Regions from separate parts of the Homo sapiens genome. Here all the other regions are linked to region 1. Evidence: promoter capture Hi-C in 16 types of primary human blood cells and fetal thymus (Javierre and others, 2016). All regions are on one chromosome and are shown on one strand. Each heading gives the region's core, a stretch centred on a gene start or on the middle of the fragment in contact. The rest is flanking DNA. Distances are from core to core; before and after follow the strand shown.

What was found. The method cuts DNA at HindIII sites, captures the fragments that hold promoters and counts their contacts. A CHiCAGO score of 5 or more calls a contact.
Region 2: a contact is called between the fragment with the promoter of ZDHHC17 here and the fragment with the promoter of TBC1D15 in region 1, in 5 of 17 cell types (total B cells, naive CD4 T cells, naive CD8 T cells and 2 more). The highest score is 12.7, in total B cells.
Region 3: the fragment with the promoter of OSBPL8 here is called in contact with the fragment with the promoter of TBC1D15 in region 1 in 1 of 17 cell types (activated CD4 T cells); the score reaches 6.5 in activated CD4 T cells.
Region 4: the fragment with the promoter of CAND1 here is called in contact with the fragment with the promoter of TBC1D15 in region 1 in 2 of 17 cell types (total CD4 T cells and monocytes); the score reaches 9.2 in total CD4 T cells.
Region 5: a fragment that was not itself captured here is called in contact with the fragment with the promoter of TBC1D15 in region 1 in 2 of 17 cell types (non-activated CD4 T cells and total CD4 T cells); the score reaches 6.5 in non-activated CD4 T cells.
Region 6: a fragment that was not itself captured here is called in contact with the fragment with the promoter of TBC1D15 in region 1 in 1 of 17 cell types (activated CD4 T cells); the score reaches 6.6 in activated CD4 T cells.

What each region holds. Positions count from the first base shown.
Region 1 is chr12:71,837,989-71,841,964 of GRCh38, reverse strand. TBC1D15 (TBC1 domain family member 15) reads right to left here and starts at 2,206. Exons shown (of 17, transcript NM_001146213.3): 1 at 2,154-2,206. The coding sequence starts at 2,183. The HindIII fragment of the contact is 6,842 bases long and covers 1-3,691 here.
Region 2 is chr12:76,762,030-76,766,005 of GRCh38, reverse strand. It overlaps ZDHHC17 (zDHHC palmitoyltransferase 17), which reads right to left and starts at 1,891. Exons shown (of 17, transcript NM_015336.4): 1 at 1,677-1,891. The coding sequence starts at 1,769. RefSeq lists enhancers at 1,544-1,693, 885-1,727, 1,703-1,997, 2,294-2,393 and a silencer at 1,744-2,153. The HindIII fragment of the contact is 3,524 bases long and covers 1-3,225 here.
Region 3 is chr12:76,557,851-76,561,826 of GRCh38, reverse strand. OSBPL8 (oxysterol binding protein like 8) reads left to right here and starts at 2,056. Exons shown (of 24, transcript NM_020841.5): 1 at 2,056-2,430. LOC105369850 (a long non-coding RNA gene) reads right to left here and starts at 1,925. Exons shown (of 4, transcript NR_188081.1): 1 at 1,594-1,925. RefSeq lists a silencer at 2,226-2,415 and an enhancer at 2,826-3,135. The HindIII fragment of the contact is 3,809 bases long and covers 1,658-3,976 here.
Region 4 is chr12:67,267,256-67,271,231 of GRCh38, reverse strand. CAND1 (cullin associated and neddylation dissociated 1) reads right to left here and starts at 1,874. Exons shown (of 15, transcript NM_018448.5): 1 at 1,447-1,874. The coding sequence starts at 1,514. RefSeq lists enhancers at 1,108-1,759, 2,039-2,298, 2,439-2,738. The HindIII fragment of the contact is 8,089 bases long and covers 645-3,976 here.
Region 5 is chr12:76,078,629-76,082,604 of GRCh38, reverse strand. The region is part of intron 1 of NAP1L1 (nucleosome assembly protein 1 like 1); the gene reads left to right. Among named protein-coding and RNA genes, the nearest start is that of NAP1L1, 4.1 kb to the left of the region's middle. The HindIII fragment of the contact is 4,283 bases long and covers 1-3,976 here.
Region 6 is chr12:75,493,276-75,497,251 of GRCh38, reverse strand. It overlaps GLIPR1 (GLI pathogenesis related 1), which reads right to left. Exons shown (of 6, transcript NM_006851.3): 4 at 1,590-1,675. It overlaps KRR1 (KRR1 small subunit processome component), which reads left to right. Exons shown (of 10, transcript NM_007043.7): 10 at 1-3,976. Among named protein-coding and RNA genes, the nearest start is that of GLIPR1-AS1, 5.4 kb to the right of the region's middle. The HindIII fragment of the contact is 4,702 bases long and covers 1-3,976 here.

The DNA of each region.
Region 1 (3,976 bases), core at 957-3,456:
CACACATTTTCTCCCCATCCCCTTTCCTAAAGAAAAAAGATTAGGAAGTAGGGAAGCATAAAGGTATCATGTCTTTTTATGTTACATTAACCAGCTTTCATTATTATTATTATTATGCTGACGATAAAAAAGTGAAGAGTTTTCATTTGCTTTTTAAATCAAGAGATTATCAGGTTTGCGCATTAGAAAAATAACTCCAGTGGTGGTGTAGAGAAGATTAAGGGCAGAGACTGTAGAAAAGGAGTAAAATCAGCCAAGAAATCAAGAATAGAAGCAGACTAAAAGCCTGAACTATGCGCTGATAGTAAAGAAGATGCAGTAAATTTAAGAAACCTCTTAAGGTAAAACTGGTAGGACATGGTTATTGATTAGAGAGTGTTATAGGAATGAATGCCTCCAAGTATGTTTAACATGCAACCAGGTGAAAGATGATGCCATTAAACCAGATCTGAACTTACTGAGAGAAGAACAAGTGGGTTTTGTTGGTCATGATAGTATTACTTGGGAGAGGAGCAGCTTTTGGCATGGAAAACTAGTTTCAGTGGAGTGATGGCAATAGATGTGAATTTGCAGTGAATGAGAATAAATGAGGTTATGAAGCAGAATTACTAAATATAAGTCTCACTTTAAGAAGTCAGACTATGAAAGGTAGTGGCTGCAAAGAGTGAAAAATGTTTTTCATTTCACAACTCTGCTTCATTGCCTCAAGGATTCTTTCAAAATCAATCCAAACCTGAAAGAGGGAGATGTTTAAACGGAAGGGATCCCCTCTTGAAAAGTCCCAGCCTGGATCAGTTTAGATGGAAAATCAAACAGGATAATCTTCAAATACGCAGTAAGTCAAGCAGTATATCAGCATCCACCCTGAATATAAAAAGAAAAAAACTGACAAGACAACCAAGGAGCACGAATAATCCAAAAAAGGATGCCCACCTATCCTTTAAAAGAGCCAGTAGGTACAAGTGTGTAATTTTATGTTTTTTTAAAAAAAAATTTATATAACCCTAACAACTCCAATACAAGAAATAATGATTGGCATCTCCTCCATTCTACAGATAAAGAACGCGAAAAGACAAAAGTCACAATTGCCCAATTTTCCAAGGTCATACTTCAGATTAACAGCAAAACCAAGCCCATATTTGTCATTCAGCCGCCTAGTCTAATACTCCAAACACCAAACCACAAACGCTGTCAAATAATTCAAAATGGGGTAGGGAAAGCAACAGGGAGACATGAGTGAAACTCAAGGAACAGAGGACGCTATCTGCAATGAGTAAACAACCATTAGTGTTCGATGAGTCACTTCAGTTGATTCCAGCTGTTTATGAAATACTCCTGCACTGGGAAATACTATCGGTGGCATATCATAAAGCTGATAGCCCTAACTATGCATAAGATGTGCCCTCGGAACGCGAATAGGCACTATTCGACGAAATCTCCGCACGTAATTCTAGTTTCCAACGAAATTAGGCGTGTCACTGACCACCTCCGTAAACCAGCATGACCAATACTCCTACTGAAATGCCTAGGAAATAAATATTTGGACGCCTTCCTAGACAAGCACAGGATGGTGTAAATCTCCATTTCTCTCAGGAAACACGTCCTGCTGCTCACAACCACCAACCAACTCAGCAGCTTGGTAAAAACAGACCCAATACACTCGTTTCTTCTAAGCGCACAGCTAGCTGCCTAGCATCTATTCAGCTCCTCCCGAAGGAAGCATAAACATCTTCACCAAACTGTAGCAAAGAAGACAGAGGCAAGTCGGGTTAACGCTTCAAAGAGAGAAAAGACGCTGGAGTCAGAAGAGTAGACATAAAGAACTAGAGTCAAGAAACAGTGAATCGGGGGAAAAAAGGAACTAGAGAGCCACCTGTCCCTTAGTAAAGGTAATACGAATAAAAGCCTCTCTGCTCTGGGGCAGAAGAGCGCCGAGGCCTAGCTGGCCTTGGAGCAGTAGCCGGCTCTATAACTCCGCGGCTGAACTGGCATTCTCGGGAAACCAGCTGGTACCACCCAGTCTTCTCCTACAGACGCCACGGGTTGTCCGGACACAGAAAGTCCCTCGTGTCCCTCCCCCAACCAGCTGCCAGGGAGCAAAAGCATCCCCGTCCCAGAGAAAAGCCGAGGTCTTCCTGGAGGCCGTTACCTACCTTCCCGCTCACAACACCCGCCGCCGCCATGTTTCCTGCGCGTGCCTGGTAATGACGTAGCAGAACCTCACGTGTCTCTCGGACATACAACAACATCCGGCAAAACTAGAATAACATCCGGGCGGGAAAAGGGCGGGGAGTGGCGGGAAGGGAGTGGAGGAAAGGAGCCGGGCGGAAAAAAGCCGCCTGACGCGTGCGTGCTGAACTGGGCTCAGAGACGGCTGGGGTGGAGTCTCAGGCCTAACGCTACGCTTGTGCTTGCCCCACGTCCTCCCCAAGGAAGACTGCTAAAATAATGTGTACCTTACTTGTATTGGAGTTTGTCGAGACTCTGAAGCTAGCGCAGGCCACGCCAGTTTGGTGAGATGAAACGAATACCATACTGGAAGCCAGCAAGATTTGTCCTGGTTTTTTGTTGTTGTTGTAGAAAAGGAGTCTCGCTCTGTCGCTCAGGCTGGAGTGCAGTGGCGCGATCTCGGCTCATTGCAGCCTCCGCCACTCGGTTCAAGCGATTCTCAAGCCTCAGCCTCCCGGGTAGCTGGGATTACAGGCGCGCGTCAAACGCCCAGCTAATTTTTAAATTTTTATTAGAGACGAGATTTCGCCAATGTTGCCCAGGCTGGTCTCGAACTCCTGACTTCAGGTGATCCGTCCGCTTCAGCCTTTGCCCAGAGAGCTGGGATTACAGGCTTGAGCCACCGCGCCCAGCCCATTAGCCTGGTTTTGTGGCAGTAGGCAAATCACCAGTGCACTCGAAACCTCAGTTTCTTATAGTAAAATCAAGATAGTGGCGTTGCGGTGAAGATCCAAGAAAGAGCAGCACTAACATGGAGATATCCCAGGCACTATACATGGAGACTTTTCCCCTCTGTATATGAGGTTTCTCTATTTGTCTGGTCACTGCCACTCACACATGACCTCCAGCAAGGTATTTCGATAGGAACTGTGATAATACCACGCCCTCATAGCTGCAGAGCCCAAGGCACATAGTTTATAGCACCTACACATTACTTATTAGCTCTGTGACTTAAAGCAGGTTTCTAAATTTATCAGAGCTTCAGGATGTAAACTGGGAATTACTCCTGCATGGAGTGGTTGTAGGGATTTCATACGACAATACATGTGTGGTAAAATGATTTGTAAAGATACTAAGGTAAGAATTTTACTTGTTCTCAGTGCTGTAAAAGAATGCAGAGAATGATTATATACTACCCCCTTGATAACTCTGGCACAGATCTGGGATTTCCCTAGCTCCGGGGCAGAATAAAAAGTCCCTTTCACCAAAAACACTTGTGTCCATTGAGGTACTTCCGTCTTCACACAGTGGAGAGGGGTTAGAGGCTTTTGAGTTTGGTTGAGGTAGGTGGCAACTAGCTGAACGACAGAAAAGGAGAGTTGCCGGTTATGTGACTACCAGGAACCTAATAGGTGAGGAAAGTGGTGGAACCTTAGGTGGGAATGAATGCGTAGCATATTAGGGAGATTGCGTGCTAGGTATCTGAGATTCCAACCATGACCAAGACCCTTATGCCCAAGCTTGGCAGGGAATCAAGAAAGCAGCTCACCTACAAGGGATGAATGAGGTGGGAAAATGAGAATATTAGCAGTAATCAGCATTGAGTGAAGACTAGAGGGCCTTTTCCAAATGTACTGGACTGAGACTAAGACCCCTAGAACCTTCATATAATCTTGGGTGTGGAGTGGAAAATCCTACTGATGACCCAAATTACATTTTCCACCAGCTCAGAGCATTGGGATGTGGTTAGAGAAAAATTTTAATGTGACATCACATTTCTTACACCCTGTGTTTTAGAGAAAATTTG
Region 2 (3,976 bases), core at 642-3,141, 4.9 Mb before region 1:
GATAGGCCTGGCATGGTGGCTCATGCCTGTAATCCCAGCACTTTAAGTAGCTAAGGTGAGAGGACCACTTGAGTTCAAGAGTTCAAGACCAGCCTAGACAACATAGGGAGACCTCTTCTTCTACAAATAATAAAAAAATCAGCCGGGTATGGTGGCGCGAGCCTGTGGTCACAGCTACTCAGGAGGCTGAGGGGAGAGGATCACTTGAGCCCTGGAGGTAGAGGCTGCAGTGAGCTGTCATCGTGTCAGTGCACTCCTGCCTGGGGGACAGGGAGAAACCCCGTCTCAAAAAAATAAACTGGATAAACACTTAAGTGTTTGAAATACTTTCACGAATACTTTCACAGGAACAGATGAATAGAAATCACTTAGCAACATTTTCAAGGCAACATCTGAAAACTACTTTGTCTATTTCCTGACGTATGTTAGGGCCTAAGTGAACCAAAAGAGATGTCTACAATGCCAGTTCTGAAAATGTTACCACTTTGGTCAGACAAGTGTTTAGTCTTACTGTATAGTTCTGTTTATCAGAAACCCAGAGTAGCCTTTTCTACTGAGACTGGCACAGGTATATATTCCGAAGGAACTGTCCCATGTGTTTTTGATAAACCAAAGTGACGAATGAGAGGGTGGTTGAGTGTTAACATGCAACATAAAAGGATGGTTGTCATTATTCACTTTTTAACAAAAACTAGTGGCATGGTACAAACCCAAATCCAGAAAAAAACAGAATCACTCCATTGCAAAGTAACCAGGTAGAGACTTCCATGTTTGTTCATCCTACAACACGACTGTCATCTTTTAACCTCATGAAAACTACCCGAGTTCTTCAGCAAACTGTGCCGCTGCCGCATACAGACATCACTGTGGATCACTAAAAATCAGAATGCATCAAGAATTGCTTCCAAGCCTTAACTAGCACTAGCTCAGCTACAAACTCGGAGGTAAACAAGCACAGACTGACTGACTGTGGAGCGGGGCACTGTTTACTTACATGGGAAGACACTCATGTTGTGATGGGAAACGTGTTGCACTGTCCACCCCTAGCTCCTAGAAAAACGGTACTTTGACAAGCTAATGTGAGTGTAAGTCTATTCCCAAAAGTTTTTACCTCTCTTCTTAATCGCTTAAGGACAAATGCTCAAAAAAGGACGCCCGACACAAGGTGCCCGAGGTGCTACCCATGGCATTACCTGGAAGGACATCACTATGCCCATGAAACTGTCCCCTCACAGTGGACTAAAAGGAAGCAATAGATACCGTCATTCACCCTGGCGAAGGAAAAAGAAATCAAAACCAGACGCGCTTCCACCTGGCCCCAAGAGGCTTGGAGCAAGACTAGGGTCTAAGCTGCGGTTCAAAAACCACACCAGGCCCCTCCGCCTCTGCTCTCAAACGCAGCGCGGCGACACAGCAGAACCATCAACACCTCCACCTCTGTCCTCCAGGCACAGCCAGGGACTGCGTCCCAGAGCCCGCCCCGGTCGGGCCCGCCCCGCTATCTCCTCCCCCGTTATCCGCTCGCAGCCGCGCTCAGGCCTGGATTCGCCTCCCCACCCTCCCCAACTTCGGCACGTCCCACTACCCCACACACGTCGGCCGCCGCCCTCGGCGAGTCCGGGGAAGAAAGGCTGGAGGGCCGCAGGGCAAGGAATCCACTCAGCACGGTTCCTCACCTCTGGGTGGAGAAGGGGCACACAGCCCGCTTCGGTATCGTACTCATCCGGGCCGTCCGCCATCTTGGTGTTAAATCCCTCCTCCCGCTGCATGCTGGGAGAAAGCGTTTCACCCTCCCGGGGCTCGGGCGAGGCGGAGGGCGAGCGCGGGGCGAGCGCGAGCCCCGCCGGAGGCGACGCGGGCCTCCTCCTCCTTCTTCTCCTGCCCCCGTGACGCCCCCTCTGTCCCCTCCCCCCTCGGAGGGCGCGGGTTTCTCCGCGCGTGCGCGGAAGCGCGGCCCGGCCCCAGACTGGATCGCGCTCTGCTGCACTGCGCTGGGGACGGCGGAGGGCTCTGGGCGTGGGCCCCGCGGCTCGGGGGCGGGTCCCGGCTGGAGGTAGATGTGAAGCTCTGGCTGCCCGGGGGAGGCGGCCGGGCGGTTGAGACAGTCGCTTGGGAAACCTAGCAGCTGCTCAGGAGCGAGAACAGAGCTCCGGAGCCGCACGCAGCACAAGTCTGGAGCCCCAGGCAGCCGAGGAGCCCACGCCCACGCGCTCCCACTTCCGCTCCGGGACCCCCGGGACCCCTCTTCAGGAACTCGGGCAGAGTCGTCAGCCAGCTCCAGGGAGGTTTGGGCCCGTCAGGCTTGAGTCGAGACCTGCATCATTCCTGAAGACAAAAGCAGCTTCCCTTTCCTCCACACTTGAAAAGGTCACCCGCAACCTGTCCCTCCGGGGGACGCCCGGAAAAACATGGATACAACTCGGGACTTCCTACTAGAGAACCCTTTTTTTTTTTTTTTTTTTTTTTTTTTTTTTTTTAATGAGACAGAGTTTTGCTCTTGCCGCCCAGGCGGGAGTGCAATGGCGCGATCTCAGCTCACTGCAACCTCTGCCTCCCGGTTCAAGCGATTCTCCTGCCTCAGCCTCCCGAGTAGCTGGAATTACAGGTGCACGCCACCACGCCCGGCTAATTTTTGTATTTTTAGTAGAGACGGGTTTTCACCATGTTGGCCAGGCTAGTCTCGAACTCCTGACCTTAAGCGATCCGCCCGCCTCGGCCTCCCAAAGTGCTGGGATTACAGGCTTGAGTCACCACACCCTGCCGAGAACTCTTTTTAAAATGATCCCAACCTGCTCTCAATCGTCTTGAATTAGTACCACACAAAAAATTTACGAGCTCAAAGCCCACACACCGCCATCTGCAACATTTCGATATAATCCAGGAATTCAGAACTGAAGCCACTTAAACTGAATTCGCTTAAATGCAAGGCAGATAAAATGACTAAAGCCATTTTTTAAAGGATTTTAGGGCGGTATGGGGGAGGTGCTCCCTGTAAATGGGCTGATGGGACAGTTTTAGATAGCATTTGTCTTTCCTTTTAGCTGTTAAAAATTGTAAGTCTAAACAGCTGAGAATTTAGCAGAGATCATGAAAGTTGACCTATTAGAGATCCTGGTACTTACTAATCTGTCTCCTGTTAGGCCAGAAACCACCAGGAAAAAGCCTGTACTCCGATAACGTCAGGCCAATTTGTAAATCAGGAGGGAGGGCACTCCAAAGGAAGCTTGGAATGCCACTGGAAAAGGAAAGAGGAAGCCTCCTTTGTAAGATTAGTTTCCCGCCAAAGGAGTCTGAGGAGGGTCTAAGGAGAGCCAGAATCAGTTCTGCATGGGACGCCGTTTCCGTGGCGGCATGAAGAAAAGCTGGGATTTACGAGGGATTGGATGCTGTCTTGAGGATACAGCAATTTAGTAATTAGGTACCTCCAGTAATAAAGTAGCAACACTAGTAAGAGCAGCAGTTACTCAAAGAGGGGTGAATATGGCGTGTCATAGCTACTGCACGGCTGTGGGAGAAAGAAGTTTCTCAGTTAACTTTGCTGCTGGCTTTTTCTGTATCTGTCCTCCCAGCACAACTACTTTTTCTCATTTCAGTCCGAGCTGATTTTCATTCTGTTCGTCCTGGCCCAAACTAGGAGTCATCTTTTACAGCTAGATAGTCTCAGGGTCGGCCCTTGGAGCATCGAATTGTTTTCAGTCATATGTTAACATGGACATAAGTCATTTTCACTCAAAAATCTCAATTTTTTTTTTTTTTTTGAGACTGAGTTTCACTCATGCCCAGGCTGGAGTGCAATGGCTCGATCTCGGCTCACTGCAACCACCACCTCCCAGGTTCAAGCGATTCTCCTGCCTCAGCCTCCCAAGTAGCTGGGATTACAGACATGCGCCACCATGCCCGGCTAATTTTGTATTTTTAGTAGAGACAGGGTTTCTCCATGTTGGTCAGGATGGTCTGGAACTGCCGGCCTCAGGTG
Region 3 (3,976 bases), core at 807-3,306, 4.7 Mb before region 1:
TTTAAATCACAACATAGGACATACTCTCACCTTCCACCATATTTGAAACAAAAAGTTTCAGGAAGCAATTTTTGCCCTTACTAGACATTATGCACTCTGGTATTTTATATTGTATTACATCCTAGCCTATTTCATATAAAAATGAAATTGATTTTTGAGTTGCAGGTTGAAAAACATGCCTCTAGAAAACAGGAGACAAGTTAATCTGTTAACAAACTCCAAAGTTACTAGCTTTGCTGAAATAATGTCACAGAATAATAAACTTCCTTCACATTTATTTGTACTACAGTCTCTCAGGCTTCAGAACAGAACCTGGTAGAATCTTTTCCTCTTTGGAACACCAGTTCATGACAATATCTCAGAGATTCTAAGACTCGTTGTTTCCCAGTTCATGACAATATCTCAGAGATTCTAAGACTCGTTGTTTCCCAGTTCATGACAATATCTCAGAGATTCTAAGACTCGTTGTTTCTGACATGTTTACATCTCTGAATTCAAGATGTGTCTCAGGCCGGGCGCGGTGGCTCATGCCTGTAATCCCAGCATTTTGGGAGGTCGAGGCGGGTGAATCATTTGAGGTCACGAGTTCAACACCAGCCTTGCCAAAATGGTGAAACCTCCTCTCTACTAAAAATACAAAAATTAGCTGGGCATGGTGGCGCATGCCTGTAATCTCAGCTCCTTGGGAGGCTAAGGGAGGAGAATCGCTTGAACCGGGAGGCGGAAATTGCAGTGGGCCGAGATTGCGCCTCTGCACTCCAGTCTGGGAGACAGAGTGAGACCCTGTCTCAAAAAAAAAAGGAAAAAGATGTGGCTTAAAGGTGCCTTACATATCAGCGGTATGGCATAGTTTCATTGGCAGCCTTTGTTTTCTTTCTTGGGTAACATAAAACAATGTAAGTCTATGATTTTTTTAGAGCTGCTATGAAATATATTAATAATAATTATATAGGCCAAACTCTATTGCTTATTCATTTCAATGTATCCAGCTTATCAGAATGCCTTCTGATTTCTTGTTAAGAAAATGTAATGAGATGAGAATAGCTTAAGAAAAAAATCCTTAGTTCTGGGCTACAAGGGAAAATGAGTTATGACCCCAATTTAATTATTACAGAAAGCTTTCTCATTTGCCTTCATTGTGATCAGGGTTTGAGTATGATCTTTATTCTACCTCCCTTACTTCTGTATAGTTAGGATTTCATTAGGCGGCTAGAGGGTTCTTCGGATCATGGCTAAAAAAGAAAGCAAAAGGTTAAGTCCTAGAGTTAAGGAATTAGGAAAAAAAAATTAAGGCATTAGAAAAAAAATCAAGAATTAGGCTTTATTTTAAAAAATGGAACAAACTGTCAAATTCCTGCGTACCCGTTTAAACTGTCACCAACCTAACACACTGTAAAACTTAATGACTGTAAAACTGGCAGCAGGATCCTGAACATAACAAGGAACAAAAATAAGTTTGCTAGGCTGTTTTCATCCCAGCATGATTGAAATACACCGTTTCCTCAAAAAAAAAAAAACCTCTAATGAGGAAAGCAGTAAATTAAATGCCACGGTTAATGTGCCACTAGAAATAGGAACAAGTAGTTTAGTTACCGAATGCTTCTTAGGCCATACACTCTACACCACGATGCGTTCTTTTTTCTGTTTCGCTAAAGCTTTCACCAAGCCTAAGGCTGGAGAGGGGTCCTAACTGAGCCCTGACCAGACCAGGGAGCCCTACTGTGCAATCTCCTCAGGTTAGGAAGGGCCCAGTATGACCGGCCCAGAAGGCCTGGCCGATCAACAGGCGCTGGGCCGACGGTGGTGGGCTCGCTTCCTGAGGCTGCCCTTGGGCATGCGGAAGGGGACTGGCTGGCGATAACACCCTGGCGAAGCAAGGTGGACAGTGACTCCCGCCCGGTTCGAGCCCGCCTAGCAGGGGAAGCAACTCCACCACCGCCTCCGCGCACCGTCACGTGACGGGAAGAGGGCGTGGCCGAAGCCCGTGATCCGGGGGGCGGGCGGGGCAGGGGGAGGGCACTAGAATGTGAAGGATCTTCGCGGTTCTGGGTGCCCAGAAAGGCGGCGACGCGGCGGATGACAACATTAGGCCGCGACGCGCTCCTGGCCAGGCGGCGGCTGTAGTGTTAGCTTTGGACGCCGCAGTAGCCGCTGCCGGTAGCAAGCCGACTGAGGGAAGGTGGGGGTCCGCCCGGGCTGGTGGACCTCGGGGCCGAAAGTTCCCGCCCCGCTCGGGGGCTGAGCCGGCAGTGCCTCCGCGGCCGCTGGGCAGCGCCCTTCGTCCAGGCTCGCGCCCCAGCTGCCGCCGACGACAGCGGCCGAGAGAAGTTGGGGTCTGACTAGACGCTTACGGGGCCTCGGACCCCGGCGCCGCGGCGACCTCGGAGGAACCGGCTCCTTGCGTCCCGCCTCCCTGGGAGCTCCGCACGGGTGAGTGTTGCTCCATTCCTGAGGTTGGGGTGCTGGGTTCGCACCCCTCAGGGCGACTGCGCACCCTTATTGCCACGTTCTGAGCTCGGGCTGTCGGGGACTCCTGGCCACCCCCGCCGAGGAGTTCTTTGGCTCCTTTGTTCCCTTTTGGAGTAGGGGGATTGGAAAGGCTGGCAGGGTGGAGTGTTTAGGGGCCCACAGTAGGTGCATCTGCAGCCTTACAAAAGCCGCGGCAGGGGAACGGGGGTGGGAGGCTGTTGGAGCATTTCGACCGCCCCGGGTGTCTGTCCCTCCTGAAGTTTGATAGGTTGATGGCATGGGCCTCGTTGGGAGCCCCCGCGCCCAGGAGAGCTGGCGCTTTGTCGCTCGGTGCGGTTAAGGCGAGGCTCCTTCTTTCCTGTGACAGCCCCAGAGAAGGCTGTGCCGCGCACCGCAGACCGCACCCGCCTTTGCAGAGCCAAGCGACACGGTGTTGTTCCTCTAAGCCTCAGTTCTCCCGGCCTTCTTGTAACGTAGGAGGAAAGCCAAGCCTTTGCTGTGCTTTTAAATTTAATGTTTGTTTCTAAGCCCTCTCTCAAGAGTGGAATCAGGTTCCAAGGAGCTTCACAGGCAGCATGCTTTAGGTTCATTGAACCACCCACTCAAGACTGGCTGAGGCGAAGCAACAGTATATGCAGATTTTCCATTCACAAAAGTCATTTAACACTCTTCTTTATGAGACACATCTGCGTTGCAGAACGTAACCTAATTTCATTTTATTTAAATGCTTTCTGAAATAATAGGTAACTTGGACAACGTAAACAGATGGGTAAACTTTAACTGATAATGTAAGTATATATGCATTAAATAAAAAATTTAATGATGTTTTTGCCTTTCTGCTGCTAGAAGACTTAAATGACGTCTGAGTAGTAATACAGTGTCTCCTGCATGGCAGTTAAGTTTTTCCCAAAATTAGTGCTGCTTTTGAAATAATCCTTTAAAACAGTTTTTGCCTCCCTTCGTATCTAGAGAGAGCAAGAATTGTGGAGAATCGTGGGTGAATTGATTGTTAAATTTTGCTAATTTCCTAGAGTTTCATCTAAACTTGATTTTGCTGAGAGGCTATGATCAGTTTCTATGCTTGCTAGAACCTGTTTTGCAGTGAAATTATTAAGATCATGCTAGTTTTATAAAATAGGTTGGAATAGGAAAAGTAAGGCCATGCAATTTAAAACTGTTCTCTATAAAAGTACAACTAATTTCAAATGTTTGTTACTTTTATTTTTTTTTAATATTAACCGTGTATGGAGTGACTATAATATACCTGCTCAAAGGGCTGAGAAAGGAAATAGATGAAACTTAAGCTACCTTTTGGGTCTTTAATTATGGACATCAAGTTATTGCGGTCACATTCCATGTCAACCGTTTGAACAGCAATACCGTGTACACAGGTGCTTAGAAATGCCTGTTTAATTAAAAATGGCCATGGTTTATTTCTCTTTGATTGAATCATAATAGTTATTGAATCTCTGATCTGTGGAAAGATGCTACTGTATTTTCCTTAGAA
Region 4 (3,976 bases), core at 625-3,124, 4.6 Mb after region 1:
TGGCCCTAGAACTACACAAATCTAAAACACACAAAACAAACATGTCACCTCCAAAAAGTTACAATACTAAAATTTTTACCATTAGCGAAATGATTTTTAAGTTTTAAATACATTTAAGAGCTGCCTAGGTAGAAATATTTTTTAAAGTAATACGTGGTTTTGTGGTCATTGATTATTTTAATAAGCCAGTATATCAATTTAATCAGGAACACAATTACTACTTTTTCATGGTTCTCCTTTCACAAATCCGAAAAGTTCTTCCCAGTCCACACGGTTTGGACACATTTTCAAGTGTTAAAACATATTGTTCATACAAAACAAACAAGCTCTTTAGTCACAATTTTAGTTGAAGACTATTTGTTATTTCCTTTAAAATGCACCCAAATTACAACCACTAAGCATTAGAGAACAAAACAGGTATAAGGAAATAAGCGATTTTTTTTTCTTTTTTTTTTTTTTTTTAGATTGAGAACTTATTTGTGAAGAGATGGGAGGCGGGAAAGAATGCAACAATCACCGAAGCGTGCAAGGAAAAATAAAAACAAAGATAACCTGTAAAAATATAACAAATCTTCACTATGCATATTACAACACTTTGGAACCAACAGTACCGATCTCCTGAACAGAACTGCTGTAATAAAGCTTCATATTCACCAGGTCCGTATTAAACATCTCTTCCTTTTGAAGATCCGTCTGCTATGATTAAGATCCAGCAATCCACCCCTTTGGCAGTGATTTTGGATATGAGGACATGAGACTGAAACCCCGAGTTCCTAAGTTGGTTTTACCTGACAAGAGGAACTGACAGTGATGCTGGCGGGAAAACCCTATGAGCGAAGTTTCCTCCATCCTGGCTCCCCTCCCCCTTCTTCCCACCTTCACGAAAATTAATAATCCACAAAAGAACTATGTATCAGCCAAGAGCGCAAAAGTTCATCATTCCACCTGAATGCAGCAAGGCCCACGCGCACCTGCGGGCAGAGAGGAGGCTGCCGGGTCCCCGAGTGGGCAGCAGCTTGGGCCCCAGCGAGCAAGGCGGCCTAGCGCCGCAGGATGGCAAGCGAATAGGCCCGGCGCCCGGTCTCCCGGCCTAGAGCAACTCCCTTCTCCACAATGGTGGGTGGTTTAGCCCCTTCGCGCTACCTGAGACGCAAGAATCGCCTCCTGGTGGGGCAGGGAAGGATGTGGGGGCGCTGAGACAAGCAAACGGGGCCTAGAGACCGCGGCGGGCAACTGCCTAGGAGAAAGAATGGGGGGAGGGGGTTGCAAGAGGGGAGAGGAAAGGGGCTCCGCAGGGATCGGGAGGCCAGCGGACCGGTGGGCTGGAGACTTCGGGGCAGAGAAGCTACCGGCTACGGCCGAAGGGGTGGGGCAAGGCCTGCGTGACGGCCAGGGCCGCGGCTGCGAGAACCCCGAGGTGGGGTGAGGGTCGGATCTCGGCCTCACCTAAAGTCCTTGTCGCTGGATGTCATTTTTTCCAGCAAATTGGAAATGTGGTACGAGGCGCTCGCCATGTTGACGGCCTCGATCCCGCCTGCTGGCGCTGCTGGAGCTGCTGCCCGCTGCCGCTGCCGCCGCCGCCGCCGCCACTGGAGCTCCTCCTCTCGCTCGCGGCGGCTCCCGCTTCCAGGGTCGCAGCGCGACGCCGACGCTGACTAGGGAGGCGCCTCGACGGGCTGCCCCCTCCCTGGCGAGGCGTGGGCCTGTCCCGGGGTAAGCCGAGGCTACAGAGCCAGCCTAACGACGGCGCTGTTCGCGTGAGAACGAGCTCATGGGCGGCGGGGCGTACAGAAGGGCCTCTACGGGGAGCCAGACACTTCCACTCAGGGCCGTCTCGCTCCCACTCGCTCCGCACTCGCTCCCTAGGGCAAAAGGCCAAAGCCCGCCTCCTTCGCTCCGGGGGCGGGGGCGGCAGACGCGGGCGCTACGGAAAGCTAAGGTCAGAGTTCACGGAGGCCTCCCCACGCACGCTGTGGAGAAGAGAGTTAAAAAACAATTCGGTTGGCTGAAGCCTGTGTCAGTTTTCATGTGACCCGCCTTTTGGAGGCATGACAACACAAAAAAAAGGGGCTGTTCTCGCGAGACTCTAAAGCGACGGTTAAGGGACAGGGGACGAGTGGAGCAAGTGGGCCTTAATCTGAAAATAACTTGATTGTTTAATGACATTAAGAGAAAAAGATTACGAGCTTTGAGAAGGAGGAAGCCTGGGAGTAACGACAGTTAAGGAGTTAGCTTGCGGAACCAACATAAGAATTTATAACAGGGAGGTGTCGTTTGGGATCAGACGCGTGGCCTGCATTGCCGTAGCCACCGTGGTGTAATGTTGCCACGTAAAAACCACAAATCCCAGAATTCAGTCGGGTGATACACTGGCTCAGAATGTGATTGGCTGCGGGAACTAGTAGCTTCCTCATTGGCTCCCGTGGAAGGAGTGAATGCTGGGATTTGCAGTCTGATGGGGGAGCCGTGCTGGGTAAAAACCTTAGAATCGTCGCGCACTCCGTTTCTGCCGCGGATTCTTATATTCTCCAATACAGGCTTTTTCTGTTATGCAGTATTTGCAGAGCAGGCTGCTGCAGTTTGGCCAGGCGCATTGCGGATCAGTTGGTGTTCTTGCCAGAGGCCTAGCAGCAGCTTCCTAGCGCTACTACTTGCACCTCCCAAGGCAGCTGAGCCTCCCCACTTCTCTGGCCAGACACACTCCTACCGTGCATCGTAGAACCACCTCTCTGACGCCAGCAGGACCTTAGTAAGAGTAATGGGTATGCGACAGATGGCTGTAGTCAGGCCCTACTGATTTCAAAATAGCTAAAAGACTATCTCTGTAGTTAGCTTTTGTGGCCTTGATGGACCTGCAGCTGTGTATTGCTCCCTCAGACGTACAAATTCGTGGAGATGAGTTATGAAAGTATTTAGTATCCAAGTTTTTCATCTGCTTAATATTTGGGATTTTAAACACAAGTTTTGCCAGCTAGGGGTCAACATCCCTGAAAGTGTTAGGGATGGAGCTAGCTGACAGGCCTTTCTAAAAGAACAGAGAGCCTGGTGAAGAGATGAAAAATCAATCTCACTTGATACTCCTGTTAAAAACAACAACAAACCTTTAAATAGCTCTCTACTAACACATAACTCAAATCCGATCAAATCTACCTGACCTTTACCATTGTTTTCTGTATTCATCAACTATTACTGAGTACTTCAAAGTCAGGCAATAGGAGTTAATAAAACAGATGAAACTTGGTTTAGCCTCATAATATGTGTTTAAATTTCACACATACCTCTGATCTGCTCTCATGTATCCTTCTACTTGAATGTATGTAATATAAAGGCCGGGTGCGGTGGCTCATGCCTGTAACCCCACCACTTTGGGAGGCCGAGGCGGGCAGATCAGGGCATCAGGAGTTCGAGACCAGCCTGGCCAATATGGTGAAACCCCATCTCTACTAAAAATACAAAAATTAGCTGGGCATGGTGGCGCGCCTGTAGTCACAGCTACTCGGGAGGCTGACGTAGAAAAATTGCTTGAACCCAGGAGGCGGAGGTTGCAGTGAGCCGAGATCGTGCCACTGCACTCCAGCCTGGGCGACAGAGTGAGACAACGTCTTAAAATGATAATAATAATATATACGTAATATATGATATTTTTTCTCCCCAGTAATGCCATATTTCATTTTACCAATCTGCCATGATTAATATATCTTTCATCAAACTGTCCTTAGTGCTTCAGCCACAATTAATTGCCTTTTGCTCTGAATAGCCTTTCCACCATATTTAATGTAAAACACACACACACACACACACACACAAAGAAGCAGGTCTTTTTTTGTATGTGTGGACCTCAAGGCCTCAGTCATTTGGTATTATCAATAATACTTTCTTTTAGCCTGTGTCCACTCAGAAAGCAAATCATGGTTTGTCTTTTTCTGTGTGTAAATTCTTTCACTTTTGAATTTCCAGCTGAACTATAATATTTGGA
Region 5 (3,976 bases), core at 803-3,302, 4.2 Mb before region 1:
CCTGGTAGGTGGACTTGGACATCTTCTGTCATAAAACCTGACTTTCATAGATTCTCCAAGTCAACATTATGTTAGTAAATAGAAATTTAAAAGTTTTCACTATACCAATTTGAATATCTTTCTAAATTTTATCTGCTACAAAGTGCCTATTTTTATATTAGGCCCATTGATTTGCAGAATTATAAAGCTAATACTGAATATGGTAAATTACTGCACTTGGCCTTTAATGAGATTTTTGAAACGAATACCTGTACCATAACTAATGTAATCCAAAATGCCATCTCATTTTATTCAGCTTGCTCCTGTTGGCTCCTGGTAAAACTGAGTTGATTCTAAATTCTCAAAATATATTCAAAACTAAGGGTCTTTTTGTAGAAGGGGCTAAAGAAGCAGTATCTGTTGGACTTCAAAGGTCTGAAGATGTCAAAATACAATATTTTATTCACTTCTTGGTTGTAAATTTGAAACAAAGGATTAGAGAGAATGACTCATCAATATCAAAATATTAATGATCAGTGTATTCAGATCTTCAAGTTTAATCAAACCTGTAATTGTGTTCTCAGTTTAGTCTTTGGGTAACTATCTAGCACCTGTATGGACATGTATCTTATGTCATGAGCAAAAGAGGCAAATTGGTTGCTTAGATGTAGAATGTTAAATTGTGATGAGAGCTATAAAGGAAGGAAAGGGTAAAGGGGTCAAAGAGTAATACAGCGTTTACACAAAGGAACCTGTTATAATTTGATGATTTTAAGTTCCATTTCAAACTAGTTTCATCTAAATAAGTTTTTGGGCAGAATAGGGGTTAGAAGGAGAGAGTTGTTACTTTACACCTATCCATATGTAAGTCGTTTAGCACAATGACTACAGAACATTAGAGTACATTAGTGGGCTTGCCATAGAAAATGGCTTCTATACCTTTGGTTACCAACTCTGCCTTTTACTTCCTGCATATTTGTATATATTTTTACTTATTCAGAAGTTTTGTACATTTTAATTTTTATTGGGAAACAGGGTTATATATATTTTTTCCTTGTGGAGACAGGCTCTTGCTGTGTTGCCCTGGCTGGTCTTAAATGCCTCACCTCAAGCGATTTTGCCTTGGCCTCCCAAAGTGCTGAGTGTATGGGTGTGAGCCACCACACCTGTCTAGAGTTATAATTTCAGTCTTGGAATTATTTTCTAAAGAGGGTACAGAAGAGCATAACAGGGATAAATAATGTAATAGGCAACACTGATTGATTATTCAGGCATTGTTTTAAATTCTGTGTGTATTATTAGCTCATTTAATTTACTTAGAGACAGGTAGCATCAACATTTTAACAAGGAAAAAAAATAGGTGTGGAGTGGTTAGATAACCCGTCCGTGGTTACGTACGTGAGCAGTGATAACTTATGATGAGATAATTTTTATCCTGGTTTTGAAAGAATGTTGACTTACACTGTTCTGCTATAAATCAGCATGAATATTAGTTCATTTTCTGTTGCTTAGAATACCTGAAACTGAGTAATTTATTTAAAAAAAAAGAATTTATTTCTTGCAGTTATAGAGGCTGAGAAATCCAAGATCGAGGGGACCCATGTGGTGAGAACCTTACTTGTGGAGACTCTGAAGGTTCCCAAGGCAGTACAGGGTATCACATGGGGAGGGGGCTGAGTGTGCTAACTGGGTAGCTTGGCTCTCCAGCTCCCCTGGTGGGAAACTGGGTAATTTATAAAGAAATACATTAATCCATGAATGGATTAATTCGTTTGTGAGGGTGGAGCCCTCATGATCCAATCACTTCTTAAAGACCCCCATCTCTCAGTGCTGCCACATAGGGGATTAAATTTCAACTTGAGTTTTAGAGGGGACAAATACTCAAACCATAGCAGCATGAAATTCAAAAGCACTCCACCTTGTATCCCACTGTGCTCTAGGGAAAAGCTGTATAGCAGTTATGGTCATGAAGTCTTCTTCCAGCATAGAATTTGTTTACATACACAGTCATGCATGGTTAATGATGGGGATGTGTTCTGGGGGAAATGCATCATTAAGCCATTTCATCCTTTTGTGAATGTCATAGAATGTATTTACACAAACCTAGATGGTACGGCCTAGTACATACCTGGGTTATATGGTATAGCCTGTTTGTTGTTCCTAGGCTACAAACCTGTATAGCATGTTGCTATGTTGAATACTGTAGGCAGTTTTAACTTTTTTAAAAATAAGTTGGAGTGTACTCTAACCACAAAAAGCATAGTATAGTAAATACATAAACCAATAAATCATTTATTGTCCTTATCAAGTATTATGTACTGTAAATAATTGTAAGTGCCATACTTTTATATGACTCTGCAGTAGGTTTGTTTATACCAGCATCACCACAAACATGAATAATGAATTGAGCTGTGACATTACTAGGCAATAGGAATGTTTCAGCTCCATTATAATCTTGTGGGATCACTGTTGTATATGCAGTCCTGTGTTGACTGAAACGTTATGTGACTGCAGTTGGGTAATGGTTTCTTAGCCTTATGTCAGCTCTATGTATCCAATTAGTTCAGTCAGTTGCCTCCCCTCTTCAGTGGAAGATTTTGTTTTTAGTTCAGTTTAGGAAGGAAGATTTCCTTTCAGGAGGCCAGGTGTGGTGGCTCACACCTGTAATCAATCACAGCACTTTGTGAGGCCAAGGCGGGAGCCCAGAATTTCCAGACCAGTCTAGGCGACATAGTGAGACACCCTGTCTTTACAAAAAAAATTAAAACAATATAGCTGAGTGTGGTGGAGAATGCATACCTGTAGTCCCAGCTACTCAGGAGGCTGAGGTGAGAGGATCACTTGAGCCTGTGAGGTCAAGGCTGCAGTGAGCTGTGATCACGCCACTGCACTATAGCCTGGGCAATAGAGCAAAGCCTTGTCTCCAAAAAAAAAAAAAAAATGCCTTCAAGCATGTTTTTAGGGTCAGTTATGTCTTTTGAGATCTTATACACACCATATATGTATGAACCTTTTATTATAAAGTGACCTTTTTATCTTAATGTTTTTCCTTGAAGTCTATTTTTTCCTGACATTAATACGTGATACCAACTCTGATTAGTGTTTTATTCTGAAACTGTCTTTTACATTACAGATTTTTTTTTAAGGAGGTATGTTGAAGTGCAGTGGCACGATCATAGCTCACTGTAACCTCAAACTCCTGGGTTCAAGTGATCTTCCTGCCTCAGTCTCCCGAGTAGCTAGGACTACAGCAGGCATGTTAATTTTTTGTAGAGATGATCTGTGTTGCCCAGGCTGGCCTTGAACTCCTGGCCTCAAGCGATCCTCCTGCCCCAGCCTTCCAAAGTGCTGAGACTATAGACGTGAGCTACCGCACATGGCCTCACCTTCATTCTTAAAAGATGTTTTGGTTGGGGATAGTATTTTAAGAGCCTTAGTTATTTTCAACATATTGAGGATTCTGTTGTCTTTTAGTGTCTTATTGAAGAGAAGACAGCTGTCAGTCTTTTTGTGCCTTTGAAGTTAATCTACCTTTTTTGTGTGTGCTTTTGAGATGAATTTGTTTTTGCTATCTTGCCTTTTTACTGATGTATCCGGAGCTGGATAAATATATGTGTGTGTGTGTGTGTGTATATATATATATGGATTCTTTATTTTATGGTTTTGATTTGTAGGGCTACTTGAATCTGTGGATTGGTGTCTTTCATCACTTAAGGAAATGGAAAATTATTGCGTATTAACTTCTTCAAATATTCTGTCCTCCTGCTCCCAGAACTTGTATGAAGTCTTTATTAGGCTTCATTGGATCTTAACATGTCTTTTCATTTCAGTATTTTCAGTCCTTTAGATTCTGTGGCTCTGCCATATTTTCAAAGTTTTCTTCTAGGCTTCATTTCAGCTCACTTAATTCTCTCTTCAGCTGTGTATCTTACTCTTAAGCCAGCCCATTTAGTTTGATTCATTAGTTTTATTTCTAGAAGTTCTAGTTTTCCAAATT
Region 6 (3,976 bases), core at 703-3,202, 3.7 Mb before region 1:
ATTGTGGTGGTGGTAGTGTTACTAATTGCCTAGATTTTTAAAGGGAAACATTTTTTTCACTGGGTTGTTTCGTTGAAAAAAATAGAAGCAGAAACTTGCCCAAAGTCACAGTGGTCAAACTGGAAATTGCACCAAAACTTGGCATACTGGTTCTGAAATCCATAGTTTTAGCCCTTATGTATACTGGTTAATTTGGAAGGAAGAAATATATACGTTCTGAAGTGAAGAGTGAGTGAAAGGAAGAATTCAGTGAATACATTGATACCTTGATATTATCTGCATTGTGGCTACATGTTACTTTTCTTCACAAGAGTGATATAAGTGAAATAAAGAATGATTGGACTGGGAGAAAAATGGCTCAGAAAACTTTGCAAAAGTACGACTGTATGTAAAGATAAGTATTCAACATTAAATGGGAAGGAGGAGAGCAAGCAGTTTAATATATAGAATTTTATAATTTTAGGCCTGCAAGGGACCTTATAAAACATGAGCAATGGAACACTTTTTTCCAAACTAAATTTCGTGCAGTGGAACTTGGCCGACTCTGTCCTTCCTCTATTCTAAGCACCCTACTCTAGCCCGGCTGCTCTGAGTTCAGTTTGTTACAAATATGGACACGAAAGTACCACAGGCTTTGCACAGCTTAATTGAAGTTTCCCCTTCACACCATGGTAAAAAAACATACTGGGATGGAAGGGTTTGTGTCTAGAACAAGAACAAGAAATAAACTCTTGGTCACTTACTAATATTTCAAAATCACAAAGCAGAATTTTGCTTGGATGTTTAGTAAAACATCCTTGGAAATTTAACTGCTTGCAGCTTCTACACTTCTTCATTAAATGCTGTCTGGCTAATAAAAAGTGCCATGTTGCAGCTTTATTTTATTTTCATTTTTTGGAGATAGACCCTCACTGTGTCACCCAGGCTGGAGTGCAGTGGTACAATCTCTGCTCACTGCAACCTCCACCTCCTGGGCTCAAGTGATTGTCCTGCCTCAGCCTCCTGAGTAGCTGGGGTTACGGGCGTCCACCACCACACCCAGCTAGTTTTTGTATTTTTAGTAGAGGGGGTTTTTGCCATGTTGGCCAGGCTGGGCATGGTGGCATGGTAATCTCAGCTACTTGGGAGGCTGAGGCAGGAGGATCGCCTGAACCCGTGAGATGGAGGTTGCAGTGAGCTGAGATCACACCACTGCACTCTAGCATGGGTGACAGAGCAAGACTCTGTCTCAAAAAAAAAAAACAAAAAAAAAAACGAAAACAGAATTCTGTTTGTTTGGATGACCTGTTATACTTATTTTTGATCTTGCTGAAATAAGCAAATCTTAGGAATCTTAGTCTACAGTTTCTGACAGTTTTTTTTGTTGTTGTTGTTTGACCAATTAGAACTAAATAAAAAGAACGTGATTTTCACATTTAAATTTCTCTTAAATGTATTCCTAGAACAGTAAGCCATTGGTTTAATTGCTACTTGATGCCAGTTTCCTTGAAGATAGCCGTTAAGATAAAACATGGTTTCATTGTTAATTCTGTAGAAAGTTACATGTTACTATTATGTTATTCTATTGGTGTATTGTTCCTTTTACTCACCACAGAGATTGTCCAAACACTTGTCATTATTGGGGCAGGCACTGCAGGTGGCTCCTCTCTTATATGGCCAAGTTGGGTAATTCCCTCTGTAAAGCAGAAGAAGGATGTCCATTAGAAGTTTTTCGGTTTTTTAAAATTGCAATTTACTATGAATCCTTAACTAAATCCAGAAGAATAGTGGAGTGAAGTACAAAGGTCCAGAGAGTTGGTAATAGAAGTGAAGACAGGAAGGCAGAAATGGAAGGCTGCTAATATTTGCATAGTTCATTCTATGTACCTGTGTCTATGCACCTGTTTTAATCTGCATCCCATTTAATTGTGACAGCTCTGAGAGGAAGTTATTCTTGTTTTACAGATGAGACAAAAGATGTAAGAGATACCTTTAATCACAATTTATACACTTCAGAGTCAGAGGAAACCTGGATTTAACTCCAGGGCTGTGCTCCCTCTCTTTACCTACCCTCTGGCCTATATGATTACTGCCATTTAAAAAACTGTCCATCTTAGAAAAGCTATGGTGACCCACATTCAATATTCTCAGTTGGTCAGCCCTCCATAATTTTCACTGGATAGGAGCCATTTGGCTGGTGCCTTCCAAAAAAATAATAAATAATGGTATGGGGGAATTTCTAAAGTACAAATTGTTTTCACATACAAGATGTGATATGAATAATAGCTGCTAATTAGTGAGCACTACCATGTGCTTGTCTTTGTTCTAAACAACCTTGAATGAAATAATCTTCACAAAAACCCTATGAGGAAGTTACTGTTGTCTATTTATACCCATTATATAGCTAGAGGCTGAGTCACAGAGTATAAGTAATTGACCAAGGTCACAGACTAGAAAGTGAAATAATATCCAAGCATTTTATATCCCCATAAATATCCTCATAGTAGTAATGGGGAGAGGGGGCACATTTATCTCAATGAACCTGCCATTGCACTAATTTTTTTTGGAACTCTGCTTTTGGAAAAAGTTCTAAACTTTTTTGTGTAATCGTACCCTTTGGCAGTCTGGTGAGGCCTATGGGCTCTTTCTCAACATAGTTTGTTGTTAAATGCATAAAATACATAGGATTATAAAGGAAACCAATTAAATTGAAATAGTTATCAAAATGTTTAAAACAAGATTTGTGATAAAGTAATATGTGCTTCTCTATTAAGATCTACCGGGGGCTATTAGTTTCAATGCAGTGATGAACACAAACTATATTTTGAGTTCTCTGCAGCAAGTGGAATGTGGTATGAAAATATCTGATATTTACAAAGATGATACTGCTAAGTCAGAGTCACGTTTATTGCTAATATGATGGTGGAGTGTTGTCTTCATTCATAATGAAAGGAAATGTTATTTTTAATAGAGGTTAGTGAAAATAAAAATAAAACTATTTTCTAATCAAAGTTTATGGTCCTCCTCTCCCCAGCACTCTACAATTACCTCCAAAGTTGAGAACTCTCACCTTAGACACACAACTTTATAACGATACCTTATTTCCAACCCCAAATCTATGTTCTTATCTCATTTTGCTCCAAATTTTAAGTTGCTTCAGAAATTTAATTAGCCCTCTGCTTACTCTACACCATGGAAAAAAGGTAATATAGTAGAAATTCTGATAGCAATTTCAAAAGATGTCCAAAATAGACATTAATCATTGGAATGTCTTTCATTGTTAATAAGCACAGTATTAAGTGGTTTAAGTTCTAGAATGATTTTAATAAAGTCATTTATGATACTTAGTTGTGCATTCCAAACTGTAAAGGAAAAGGTAAAAAATGCTACTTAAAAATAAGCTAAAAACCAAGACAGTCGGTGAGGTCTGTGGAAATGGTAGTATTCATCTTGGGAGAAACATGCTACTGGAAAGGCCTGGATTTGTCTAGATGGGAGTCATTAAGACTGTGGGACCTAAAGTATTCAGCACAATAAAGCAACAGGACATTTCAATGTTTTCCCTGGTAGCCTGAGAGAGAAGAGGGTTGGGGTTATGGGACCCAGGGGAAGACCGAAGACAAATCTTTAAAGAAAAAGATAAATATGGGTAAGGGTCCCTAAGGCAGTGACGGCCTAAGCACACTGGTACTATCTTGACTATCTTGTGGTCAAAGTTATTTCCTCTTCTGTGCTATAATCCTCTCCTCCACTAATCCACTCTGAGTAAAGATCTGTTACACACCATACCCTTGTTCATGGTGCCCAGGGGAAATGAAGAGGAGAGTATTACAGGCAACTGGAAGATTAAGCATCCCAGACCCCATTCTGAGGTATCAGAAATATTGAGGAGGATACTGGACTTCCTAAGATTATGTGGAATGGGGGCCTACAACTTTTTGTGTATAGGAAAATAATACCTCAGAGGGCAGAGGGCAAAGGGAAATGAGGACATTCC